Regions from separate parts of the Homo sapiens genome. Here all the other regions are linked to region 1. Evidence: promoter capture Hi-C in 16 types of primary human blood cells and fetal thymus (Javierre and others, 2016). All regions are on one chromosome and are shown on one strand. Each heading gives the region's core, a stretch centred on a gene start or on the middle of the fragment in contact. The rest is flanking DNA. Distances are from core to core; before and after follow the strand shown. Region 1 holds the start of ARPP19 (cAMP regulated phosphoprotein 19). Region 2 overlaps MYO5A (myosin VA). Region 3 overlaps MYO5A (myosin VA). Region 4 overlaps MYO5A (myosin VA).

What was found. Contacts are between HindIII fragments. The CHiCAGO score rates a contact against its expected background, and 5 or more counts as called.
Region 2: a fragment that was not itself captured here is called in contact with the fragment with the promoter of ARPP19 in region 1 in 10 of 17 cell types (non-activated CD4 T cells, M1 macrophages, M0 macrophages and 7 more); the score reaches 10.7 in non-activated CD4 T cells.
Region 3: a contact is called between a fragment that was not itself captured here and the fragment with the promoter of ARPP19 in region 1, in 1 of 17 cell types (M1 macrophages). The highest score is 6.6, in M1 macrophages.
Region 4: a contact is called between a fragment that was not itself captured here and the fragment with the promoter of ARPP19 in region 1, in 1 of 17 cell types (M1 macrophages). The highest score is 6.4, in M1 macrophages.

The regions. Positions count from the first base shown.
Region 1 is chr15:52,567,309-52,570,576 of GRCh38, forward strand. It overlaps ARPP19 (cAMP regulated phosphoprotein 19), which reads right to left and starts at 1,722. Exons shown (of 3, transcript NM_006628.6): 1 at 1,540-1,722. The coding sequence starts at 1,584. RefSeq lists enhancers at 573-1,321, 1,322-2,068, 2,122-2,251 and silencers at 1,422-1,521, 1,592-1,651. The HindIII fragment of the contact is 6,860 bases long and covers 1-2,406 here.
Region 2 is chr15:52,332,099-52,335,366 of GRCh38, forward strand. All of the region lies in intron 34 of MYO5A (myosin VA), which reads right to left. Among named protein-coding and RNA genes, the nearest start is that of MYO5C, 38 kb to the left of the region's middle. The HindIII fragment of the contact is 2,759 bases long and covers 362-3,120 here.
Region 3 is chr15:52,355,029-52,358,296 of GRCh38, forward strand. The region is part of intron 25 of MYO5A (myosin VA); the gene reads right to left. Among named protein-coding and RNA genes, the nearest start is that of MYO5C, 61 kb to the left of the region's middle. The HindIII fragment of the contact is 892 bases long and covers 1,267-2,158 here.
Region 4 is chr15:52,432,562-52,435,829 of GRCh38, forward strand. It overlaps MYO5A (myosin VA), which reads right to left. Exons shown (of 42, transcript NM_001382347.1): 2 at 614-724. Among named protein-coding and RNA genes, the nearest start is that of MYO5A, 95 kb to the right of the region's middle. The HindIII fragment of the contact is 689 bases long and covers 1,266-1,954 here.

The sequences.
Region 1 (3,268 bases), core at 472-2,971:
TTAAAAGATACATTAGGCTTTTCCAAGTAAAAGTATTTACACTCTAGAAGTCAATACTGCATACTTTGGCAACATACTAACAGAACTTATCAAAGAAAATTACATAGCACACTACTGTGCACCAGAAGTTAATGCTAAGTTTGATGTAAGTGTTTAAGGCAAACCACCACAGACAGGGACTTGTTATTTTTGGGGGCTCCTAAATTTCAAGCAATAATGAACACAATACGCATTTTACAATAAGCAGGTGATACTTAATAATACTGTTAAGATTGCAAACTTTAATATTTGTATTTTTGCCCCCAAAATCCATTTTTTTGGTAATGCGTAAATATATCTATTTTCACGGGATATTCTCAAATAATGTGGTAACTTGGACTTTTACCTATGCTATATGTTTTCTTGTTTTTCAATTACTTTAACATCCTAACAGAAGCACCCAACTTAAGAAAAGTTAACACGGTTTTAAGAACATATGGAATGGGCTTAGAACACTAATCCAATTCCCAACTTAATTAGGACATAAGTGCAACATTAAGCAGAAACCCGCACGAAGGTCAAGCAGTAGACCAAAATCGTATTTAACGGCAACACAACCTGATTTGTAAGAAAAATTGTTGATAAACAATTTAGGAGACAAGATACCTCGGCCCTTTCTCACTTCTCGGCCAGTCACACCTGCCTAGGAGGGCAGGGCGGTGGAAATAATTACAGTGGGAGAGACAAACACCAGCCTAGATAAATACAAAGGCTTGATATTCATAATTTGAACCACAGTGACACTCCCGGCCTATTCCCCTACATCAGGAAGACACAAGGGCGTTTACAAAATATTCCTGTTTCCAATAAAACCCTGATTAATTTCGTGAGTAAAATTTTAAAATTCCACCCTTTCGATTTTTAGTCAAGTACCATATTTGAGTCCCATCGACTGAAACCTTTTTGAGCACAGACTGCGCTGCACACTACACCTGACTCACCTCCTCTAGGCCTCACCCCGCCGTGGGAGGCAAGCACCAGTATTCGGCCTTTACAGGTGAAGACACTGAAGGCCGGACTTTACTCACTGACCATGGTTACAAGGGTTGGCCCTGAAATGCCAATCCTGGCCCACATCGCGGCCCGCACACGAGGCACTGCTTTTGGAGTGAACCGCACGCTCACAATACAAGTAGTTGGAGAGTTCTTCAAAGGAAAAAATAAAACTTCCTAACCAAATTGAGGCTTACAGAAAAACTTAGGCTCTACGCCCAAAGCCTGCGTCCTGGGCTCTCGCGTAAATATAAGTGACTGAGGAACACCGCGACCCACGGAGGTGTTACAAAAGGCACGATTCGGAGTAAACGCGGGGCACGTTGGAACTCCCAATTCGTCGGCGCACCAGCCAGCGACGGCGGGAAGCCAAAGGTGGGGCGCAGGAGCCTCGGCCTCATGCGCCTCGGCCCCGCATCTCGGGCGCGGCCCTCCGCCTGGCGGGAGCAGGCCGCCCGCCAGACCCGGCCTTGGGCAGGGCCCAGGGCTCACGCCCCGCGCGCTCACCTTCTGCTCCTCCGCGGAGGCTGCCTCGGGGACTTCCGCAGACATAGTGCTCCCTCTGCAGACGAGACGCCGGGAAAAGATGCAATTAGCGGGTGGCCGAGGCCACCCGGCCGCCGCCCGTCCCAGCTCTCCCAGGGCCCGCCGGGCCGCCTCCGCCCGCGAAAATGGCCGCCGCCTTATGACGACACGGAGCCGCGAAACGCTCCGCTGGCCAAGGCCCTCGCACGCCGGAGCCCGCCTGCCCCTCCCGCACCGCACCCCTACCTACTTGACCCCGCTTCTCCCGCTCGCTGTCGTCCAAACACTTCCTTTTTTCCTTCAAAGGTCGCCGCTCCTGCCTCACCTCACATCCGTTTGTGGCTGCCGAGTGCTTCCTGGGAATTGTAGTTTCTAAGTGGAACCGCCCCTCCCCGCCCTTTCCTGTCCACTCTGGTCCCCTCGTTCTAGGAGCTTTATTTTACTCTTTCCACTTACCCATCCTCGCCTAGTTCTGTTCTCCTCGCTCTCCGCTCTGTAGCCACACAGGCTGTCTTTTGGGCACGCCAAAAGTCTTGCTCCACTCTGCCACGCCTTCACATCTCCAGTCCTACGTCTCTGCCTCAGAACCTTTCCTTCCTAAACCTCTACACTAGGCCAGAGCCACCTCTTAAAGGCTGTCACAGCCCTGTACAGTTCCTCAACAACATGAACTGTATCATTACACAATTGTCGTGACTTTAGGTCACCTTTCCTTCTCAGATAAGCCGCACCAGGGCAGGGATCTCGTCTGTAATTACTTATATTTTACTCTGAGGGTCCAGCACTTCCTAGATATCTAACGAAGGAATTCAGATTCATTTGTCCACTCCCAGGGGGTCCACTCCCACAAGCTTACCGAAACTGCTAGCATTGAGCTCCCCCAATGACCTTTTTATTTGCCAAGTCCTGCGGCTTCTTACTGAATCCTCATTCTACTTGATATCTGAATAGTTACTCGCAATGTTTGTTGGTTCCAACAAAGTGTCCCTCAGAAACTTGGAAATAAGATTGCCCTCTAAAAGTTAAACTAGTAAAAAGCCACAGAAAATGAATGCATTTCTGGGGGCAGGGGAACAATTGAAAGACCCTAAATGCCTGGATAAGGAATTTGGAAACCATCGAAACTCAACCAGGATGTAGAATCTCAGACAGGAAGAATTGCACTGGAATTGCAACTAGAAAAACAAAAAGAGTTAATATTGCACTCCTTTTGGAGAAACGAAGGAAGGCATTTGTCAGCCAAGGAAGTATTGAAAATAAAAGGGTTCAACAGGCCAACTGTTTGACAAAGATATCCCTTAAGAATGTCTCACGCTGGGCTAGCTGAGAAACTGTAAGATCCACGACATATTTGTTCTCCTTCTATACTCACAAAGTAACATACTGAAAATTTGCCTTTCCCTTAAGCAGAACTGCAGAGAGAAAGAAGAGTGCAGTAGTTAGGCCACTGAAGCATTTAACAGTTGTATTTTTATTAATAAATTGACTGACGTTCTAGTATATGTCCTATATCAATGTATTTGTGAACTTGAGTTAAAATCTGATAGACATACACTTAATGATGAAACTCAGCCTCAAGAAAATTGGCTGTGGCTGGGCACAGTGGCTCACTCGTAATCCCAGCACTTTGGGAGGCCAAGGCGGGCAAATCGCTCGAGCTCAGGAGTTCAAGACCAGCCTGGCCAACATGGCAAATCTCTGTCTCTACAAA
Region 2 (3,268 bases), core at 491-2,990, 240 kb before region 1:
ATTATAAAACCCCTGCCATCTATGCCACTAGTAACTTTTAAGCCGCATGTACAATTCCAAAAGGGGAAACTGGGAGAAAACAAGTTCAACATACTAGGTTTATCAATAAATGCACATATTTGGACTCCATGTAACCCAAAGAGCATATTTTAAACCCACTGATTTATCAAATCTATGATGCTATCGGTTATGAAATACAGTATTTTATGTAACACTAAAAAAATTGCCAACTAAACTATAACCCATCAACAATTGTAAGATACACCCCAATTTCAGAGATGTTGAAATGGGAAACACTGCATCTCAGAATTTGTGAAATACAATGGATATTTTTACTAAGAAAGTTTATGTTTTAAAAGGAAGCTTCACCTTCCTTTTGCAAAATCTCTAACCAGGATATTTTTGGTACTGTATAAAAATGTCAGATAGAATGTGCCATACTCTCACTAAAAACTTTCTCTCTGCCTCTGAATTCTCCCTAGGGACTTAAGTCTTTGCAAAGCTCACAAATGAAATTTAGATGTCAGTTCAACATAACCTTGATTGATTTTGCAATATTATCTACTAATTAAAATAAAATGTTGGCCGGGCACAGTGACTCACACCTATAATCAGAGCACTTTGGGAGGCCAAGGCAGGCAGATCACCTGAGTTCAGGAGTTCAAGACCACCCTGACCAACATGGAGAAACCCCATCTCTACTAAAAATACAAAAAATTAGCCGGGCATGGTGGTACATGCCTGTAATCCCAGCTACTTGGGAGGCTGAGGCAGGAGAATCGCTTGAACCTGGGAGGCAGAGGTTGCAGTGAGCCGAGATCACGCCACTGCACTGCAGCCTGAGTGATGAAAGCCAAACTCCATCTCAATAAATAAATAAATAAAGAGGCAACTAGCTAAGCCTTTTGCCCTTCCACCTTCTGCCATGTAAGAACACAGAGTTCGTCCCCTTCAGAGGATCCAGCAACAAGGCACCTGCCATCTCGGAAGCAGAAACCAGACCCTCTGAACTTGCCAGTGTCTTGACCCTTCAGAACTGTGAGAAATAAATTTCTGTTCTTTATAAATCACCCAGTCTCAAGTACTTTGTTATAGCAGCACAAAGGGACTGAGGAGCCCAATGATCCATTCTTCTAGGAAGACCTGAAAAAAGACTCTAGTTTCATTTTCTAGATTCTTTATAAACTTGAGGGAACCTTTCTGTCTTCAAAAAGGAAAGAAAATTGGAAAGTTTTAAAAAAATTTACTTTTGGCACCAGGAAGATCTTGATCTCAAGTTTGAGACAATCAGATGAATTCCTAATAAGTAGAAGATTTCTGTGGGAAAATTTGACACAAAGGAGAGAAATCAGTGGCCCTTAGAAGGTATGTGTTCTAGTCCTGCCATCTCACCTGCTGCAACCATGGGTCACTTACAGGCCTTAGTTTTTTCCTCTTATGAAATAACTAATTGATTTCTAGAATCCTTTCAGGTCTTAATTTCTTGATTCCATGAAAATTAAGATGGGTGAAAATATAGCACAAAGCAGATCAAATTTTGAAACACTCTCCATTTAGCTATATAGTTTCTGCCAAAAATTATATATGCTAGCATTTTTTTTAAAAGTCTGTTGGCTTTTTAAAAAGCCTCCTTAATTAAATGTAGCTTGTAGGAGGAGGCAAGAGTTGTGCTATTTTAAACCAAAAGGATTTAAGTGTGTTGCAATACATTTAAAGAAAAGTATAAGACAACGTTTAGTTATTAGAAGGTGCCTGTATTTTCTGTGTAACAGGCAGATACGAGGATGAAAAGTGTCACCTTGATTCTCTTTATTTGGGGTAGAAGCAGGTACACTGCACTCAGCAAGTGCCCAAGTCACATAAATCTATTTCATTTCATCCTCTAGATATGTATCACTTAACTCAAAATGTAACTCTTCTTAAGAACTATTATAATGCCTTTTTTGTTTGATCTATGAATTGCTATTCTCAAATGCTACTTATGGCTTTACAGCTGTCTGGATAGTTTAAATGATGAGGTTGATTTCTGATTGACAATGGCTTAAGATTAGTAATATCTTAAAATAGTCTAACCCATCTCTTCAACTAAAAAATATACATATCAAAGAAAACTAATAAAAATTATGTAAAATAATGAATGGCTTTTCTGTTTATCAAAATTTACTAAAGTATGGCAAAGGAATCATTAGGAGTTGAACAAAAAAAGAATCTCACATGTTAATACACTTAAAATCTGTTTTTTTCAAACAAATACTCTGCTGTCTGATTATCATCTCATGATATAATTGGTGCAAAGTGCAAAAAGTTCTCTGAATAAAGATTTTTAAGTTCTGCTAATAGACATTATAGCTCATGTGTGTGTGAGTGTGTGATGTGGAGGCTCAAATTTTAATGTAATATATGACTCATGTAATGCTAAAGGATTATATATAAAGTGTGACTATAAAATAATCTTTCTGATTTCTAAACAAATATTTCAGTATTTGTACATCCAACAGAGTAATATCCTTTACAAAGTAAATGTCCATGTTGCCATGTTATAAATATTTCTGAAACTTACTCATTCACTCAACAAACATTTATGGAATGATTATGAGATAGGTCAGACACTATGCTAGGTGCTGTGAAAGCAAAGGGAAACAGAGATGTTTTCTATGCTCAGGAAGCTCAGAGTCTATTATGGAAGCCAGTAATTCAAACAGAAAAATTGCTAAAAATATGACATAGTGAAGACCATAAAAGATGTCGGCCAAATTGTGGTACACAGAGAGCAGAACCATAACGTCTGTCTGGGTAATCAGGAAAGGCTACTCTTGAGGATGTGACATATGACTCTGGTCTCAAAGGCTGAGCAGGACTTAACCAGGAGAAGCAGGATGACCAAACAGAAGGAGCAGTTATGACAAGACCTGGCATGTTGGAGGAATGAAAACCACACTTGGAGTTAATCATGATAGATTCTTTTGAACATCCTCAGTGATGGGGAATCTTCACTGTTTGAACCAAGCAAGAATTAGATGCAGAATGACAATGAGAGAAAATGATTAACCGTTCACACAGGTTTGAAGGCTATTCCAAAGACTGTCTCAAAATCCCTTAAGCAGTGAGAACATTGAAATAAGCTTAAAATTTGGCTTTAGGCTGGAAGCGGTGGCTCACGCCTATACCCAGCACTTTGGGAGGCTGAGGCAGATGGATCACGAGCTCAGGAGTTCGAGATCAGCCTGGCCAACATGGTGAAACCCCGTCTCTACTAAAAATACAAAAA
Region 3 (3,268 bases), core at 463-2,962, 210 kb before region 1:
GCCATCAGTGGTTATCTCAGAAGACGGAATGTACTATGGGAAGGTTTCATTTTTTACATTGTACATTCCCATATTTAAATTGTTTACAATGGGCAGATTCTACATTTACAATCAGGAAGAATGATTTTTGAAAATATGAAATGCCAGCATAAATATATTGAGATCACACAGAGAAAACTGAAATCTGATAAACCAAACATATACAGTCAGCCCTCCATATCCTTGGGTTCTGTATCTGTGGGTTCCACATCCTCTCAGATTCAACCAACTGTGGATCAAAAATATTCCCCCCCAAAAAAACTCCCAAACAATAAAAATGAAAATGATTATCACATTTTTACTGTTAGAATATTTACTGCCTCTTCAGAAAACAGTGAAGAGAGTTTAGCCCTCACTACTTTAACAAAACGCTGCTTGGTTAGGCTTGGCTGTGTCCCCACTAAGAAGAGACTGCTGAAATAGACATAAAGCCCAGCCTTGGCTCTGCAGATAGACCTGTGCTGCGCAACTTGGCTTTTTATTACAAATAAATAGTTATTATACTGTATTGTTTACATAGCATTTATATTGTCTTGGGTATTACAATATTCTATATTTGTCTTAGGTACTAAATAATGTTTTATTTAATTATATATTGTCTTAGGTATTAAATAATGCTATATTTACATAGCTTGTCTTAGGTATTATAAGTAATGTAGAGATGATTTAAAGAATATGGAAGGATGTGCATAGGTTATATGTAAATACTACTGCATTTTATATAAGAGACTTGAGCATCCTTAGATTTTGGTATTCATGAAAGTCCTGGAACCAATCCCCTGTGGAAACCGAGGGACGACTGTATAGTTCTTAATAAACTGAAGGATAACCTAATAACATTTTAAAAATGTGTCAACTGGTTCCAAAACAGAATCACAATGAGACCTACTAGGATAAATAAAGGTACACTAATTAAAGCTAAAAAGAATGGAAACAACTAACCATCATAATGGAAGTTGTGGATGCCATAATTGTTTTAACATGTTTACCTAAGGTTTTAATTTTTAATGAGGTAAGAAGAGAAATAATTGTACTATTAGAATTAATGTGGAAGATAAAGAGTCCCTTTGTTAGAGAGAGACAAGTGGGGCTGGAGGAGCAAGAGAATGGCAACAATCATTTATTTAACTAAATGGTCAAAGTATAATTCTTAAATGATTGGTAAATCTACCCAATTGTTTAAAAAGAGAATGTTTACTTTTGCTTTTCTGATATGAGAACAGAATAAGCTTTTACAGAAAATTTAGGAAATAAGAAAAGTTCAAAGAAGAAAAACACAGCCATAATCCTATCGCCACAGAAAAACTACAATTTTTTCTTAGTCTTTTTCTCTATGCATCTATAGATTTAAAGAATTAGAATAATAATGTCATTATAATTTTATATGGTCTTTTAAACTTGGCATTGCATTGTTTCCCAAATTTATAATATGATATTTCAATATATAGACAGGTGTGTCACCATTTGCTTAGCTATTATTTTACTGATGGGTGTTGAAGTTGTTTCTAATTTTTTGCTATTGGAATATTACTAAAATAAACACCCCAGTATATAAATATCTAAACATTAACTTCTTAAAAGTCCATTAAATTGGGCCAATTTAAACTTCTATCAGCAACCATCACCTTGCCTTCAACAGTAGTAACCGTTATAATTAAAAAAAAAAAAAAATTAGCTCAGTTAATAGACCAAAAGTGGCACTTCGCTGTTGATTTAATTTGCATTTCTTTGACTTTTTTTTTTTTTTTTTTATTTTCAGGAATTGTATATTAATTAGCTACCTTTGGTCTTTCATGAATTCAGAGTAGTGTTAAGTGTTATTCCAATTCAAAAACAACCTGAGAAGAATCAACTGAACAAAAAAGTAGGCATTTATAGGCTGTCAAAGTCATTTGTCCACAAATTAATTACACCTGAACTTTTTCTTTCTGCCTACTTTGTAATACTTAACAATTAGAAAAAGTTTTAGGTATATAATCTTTATAATAAAGTCTGTCCTGACTTAGCAGAACAGATATAACATCTTGCCTCAACACGAAATCACCACAGAATTTCATTCATATAAAAATTCTTCTCTATACGTCCCCCATAAAAATTAAGCGTAAAATACTTATATTGAAGCTTATTTACAATGTAAACATTCCATATTATATATTTTAATGTTTGTTCATTTATGAATGATGTACATGTCCCTGAAATTTTAAATTATTTAATCTTTTCTTACACTGTCATAGAACCTTTCATTCTAGAAATGAATATAATACTTCATTCATTATACCTAAAATATCACTTGGAAATCATTCCTTTGAGCCTTGAATGGGCACTTTTTGTTTAAAAGGAATCCTCTTATTAAAATGGGATGGTGTTTTGATAACTAGAACTAGCAAAAAAAAAAAAAAAAGAAAAAATGTGATGGGTTAACTCTTTAGACATTGGCTAATACTATATAAACAACTAGTTGATTGCTGGACAAGAGCAAAATTCTGTGGATAAGAATATTAAAATAGAAGGTGGAAGATCACAAAAGATTACATTTGAAAAATGCAAAATGACTCGAGGCATAAAGAGTGGTAATTATTTAAGAGTGCTCCCGATGGTACCCATTCTGAGCCCGGATGACACATCTAATTAAAGAGATGCTATCAAATTAAAGAGCTGTCCTCACTATACCCCATGAGCAAGAAGGAAGATTGGGCCATCTGTCACAGAGAAGTTTCTGAGGTTTTGTTTCGCTTTTTGCCTTAGTAAGGACTTTGTCACCCAGGGCTTTTCTAAGACAGCGAAGCTTTTTAACTGACCTAAAAAATAACACTAGTCTCTCATCTGAGGAAAATCAAAATAACTGAATTTATTCACAAAATTACCACCACTACAGGCCTGGCAGTCATTCTGAAATAACTCCTAATGATAGCTGAGAAAGTTCTGGTGACCCTTCCCAGAGGTGAAAGGTGTGAGAAAGCTTGACAGCAGAAGCAGAACAGGGATCATCAGTCAAGGGCTCCTAGAAGAGGTGCACACCAAGCAGGAGGAGCACTGGTTCCAAAGCAATGTCATCCCAGCCCATGAAGATCGGCAAGCGTGGGAGGGCTGCAAAACAAGTGGGACTGGCAGGCGAATTCTCCACAGAGCTACAGACTGGTTTCCGGCAAGCACACCCTTTTTATCATGGCTTCCCCCTACCAGCAGAGCTGCTAAAGTGGTACTACACTGGAATGGGCAGCTTGTAAAT
Region 4 (3,268 bases), core at 360-2,859, 130 kb before region 1:
GAAGTTTGGCTTTCTTATTTGGAAAATAGTGATTATATCACCTGCCAACCCATAGGGTTGGTGTGAAATTTAACGTGAGAAAATTCACTCCAAAGTGCCGAACATTTTGCCTAACAAAGCAGATGACCAATAAATGTTAAATAAGTTAATTCCCTAGTTTGGTATTAAAAGCCCTCCTAATTGGCCTAATTCTTCCCCGCCTTCCTCCCAACTAGTATCTTCCCCTCAGTTTTGCTCTCCATGCTGCCACCAATGAGTCTCCTCTAAGACCTGGCACCATGCCTCTTTTTAAAAACACTACAAGCACTCCCCATAGCACACCAGTTAAATGCAAGAGTTTTAGGATTAGATGTGAATCTAAACCTGATAATCATAATAAATTCACAGGCCAAAATAGAAGCTTTTTAAAGTATCTGCTATTTTCACTAATCTATGCCATTAAAAACACTATCAGGATAGAAAACTGAGTTTGCCATTTTTACCAATTTAGTAAGTAAAAATTCTAGGTAAGTTCAAAATTTAACTTCCATTGGGAGTTTACTTCACAGTAAATTTACACTTTTGAACTCCCTTCACTTTATGCCAATGACAACAAATGAAAGTGAGATCTCACCTTTCCTTCCTCGAGGTGAAGCAGGAGGACTTTATCTCCTGGCTTATAATCTTTGAGCAGCTCTGCTGACTTCCAGACTTCCTCTGGATCAGGTATCCAAACCCTGGCAAACTAGAAGACAAAAAGAAAAAAATTTAAACTAGCAAATCAATTATTTTACAATCATATATAAACATATGATAACTATTTATAATTAAACAATTTATGAAAAAAGAAATCTTGGCCAACATGAAATTCACTTTTTTTTTTTTTTTTTTTTTTTTGAGACAGAGTTAAGCTCTTGTTGCCCAGGCTGGAGTACAGTGGCATGATCTCAGCTCACAGCAACCTCTGCCTCCTGGGTTCAAGCAATTCTCCTGCCTCAGCCTCCTGAGTAGCTGGAATTACAGGCGCCTGCCACCACACTCAGCTAATTTTTTTGTTTTTAATAAAGATGGAGTTTCGCCATATTGGCCAAGCTGGTCTCCAAACTCCTGACCTCAGGTGATCCACCCGCCTCAGCCTCCCAAAGTGCTGGGATTACAGGTGTGAGCCACCACGTCCAGCTGAAATTTACTTTTTAAATTAGTAAACAAAAAATATTTTAGCTCTCATAGCACCACCATTCCCAAATTATATAAAAAGTGTGCTCTGAAAAAACAGTTATGATCAAAGCTTGACTTTGCTTTACACAGTAAATGCCACCTGAAAGTATAATTTTAGGTTAAAATGTACACATAAGATCTATTTTTGAAGCTATGGTGTTGTGGTTCTGCCAGTTTCAACAGCACTGCCATCTTTTTATGGCTGGGTTTACAATTTGGATTTTTTTGTTCTTTCTTTTTCTTTTTTTTTTTTTTTTTTGAGATACAGTCTCGCTCTGTTGCCCAGGCTGGAGTGCAGTGGCACGATTTCGGCTCACTGCCACCTCTGCCTCCCGGGTTCAAGTGATTCTCCTGCCTCAGCCTCACGAGTAGCTGGGACTACAGGCATGTGCCACTGTGCCCAGCTAATTTTTGTATTTTTAGTAGAGACGGGGTTTCACCATGTTGGCCAGGCTGGTCTCGAACCCCTGACCTCGTGACCCACCTGCCTCAGCCTCCCAAAGTGCTGGGATTACAGTCATGAGCCACCGTGCCCGGCCCACAATTTGGATTTTTTTATGGTGGTTTGCATCCTGTGCTCTGCAAAGCCTTAGTGATTTCTCAGACATCCTTCAGGAGCCATCACAGTAGGGAGAAGAGGAGAATAAAAATAACAGATTTTTTAAAACTGAAGAAACACGGTTGTTCAGCATTTTGCCTTCATTATTTTATAAAGATGAGTGGGAAATGGTAAAAATGGCACAGCCAGTCACTAATAAGCTTAGCTCCTGTAGCCTCAACATCATGAAAAAGGCATGGTAATCATCAGGGATTCCCAAAGCAGCAAATATTTTGCCTCAACTAGATACTCCCTGGACATAAGCCAGAAGATTATGTGGTCAATTTTGAAGAAAAAGAACAAAATATACTAACATGCACAAATCTTTCGAATACCACATTGAAGAAGTGTTTTTATGTGCTTGGACTCTCTGGGAAGAAATTTCCCTTTAAAACACACATACACTAAACCTAAATGCCCATTTTCATGAACAAATCACATATGAAAACAGGAATCCTAGATTCAGCCAGCAAGGGAAAGACATGACACAATCAATCATGGCTGGCATGGGCCAGACTGAACCCGGTCTCTGGCCTGTATCTGTATCCTCATTTCATGTAAATTCACCTCTAGATTTCATTTTTAACAATAATCAGGGTACTAATTTACTTGGAGCTTTGAGAAGGAGCATTTGGATTTGAGTATGTTAAATATGGGGCAACTTCCCAAAGAACTGTGATAATGTAATGACTATTCTAAGTACTGGGCACAAAGTTCTGGAAGCTTGTAACAAGGTCATTCCCAAGTACAAGAGAAATTTATATGACCCAGTGATGAACTTACAGATAGGAGAAAGCGAAAAGAAAGTGGGTGAACGAAAGTACAGGTAGATCTGAGATTCAAGATAATTTAAATTAAGAAAAACATTTCAGCATGCCATGCCACTGTCCTGGATATTACGTTAACCTCTTTTTTTTTTTTTTTTTTTTTGAGACGGAGTCTCACTCTGTCACTCTGTCACCCAGGCTGGAGTGCAGTGGCACGATCTCGGCTCACTGCAACCTCCGCCTCCTGGGTTCAAGTGATTCTCCTGCCTCGGCCTCCCGAGCAGCTGGGACTATAGGCACATGCCACCACACCCAGCTAATTTTTTTCTATTTTTAGTAGAGACAGGGTTTCACCGTGTTAGCCAGGATGGTCTCGATCTCCTGACCTCATGATCCACCCGCCTTGGCCTCTCAAGGTGCTGGGATTACAGGCATGAGCCACCATGCCCAGCCTATGTTAACCTCTTTACTGACAAATATTTTCAAGCCTTCCTATTGGGAAGCTGCTGTGGTATATTGCCATAGTTTCCAAACTACTAGATTTCATGGCTGGTAAAATTTTTTACTTAAAGTTTGGGGACTGATATAAGGTTATTAACTAACTTTTAGTCTTGACAAGTAAGATTATAAAACCATTAATTATTGGCAGCACTTACAGACAAGTAGAGGCTAAAGCCCTCACACTCAGCAGAGGCAACATAAATAC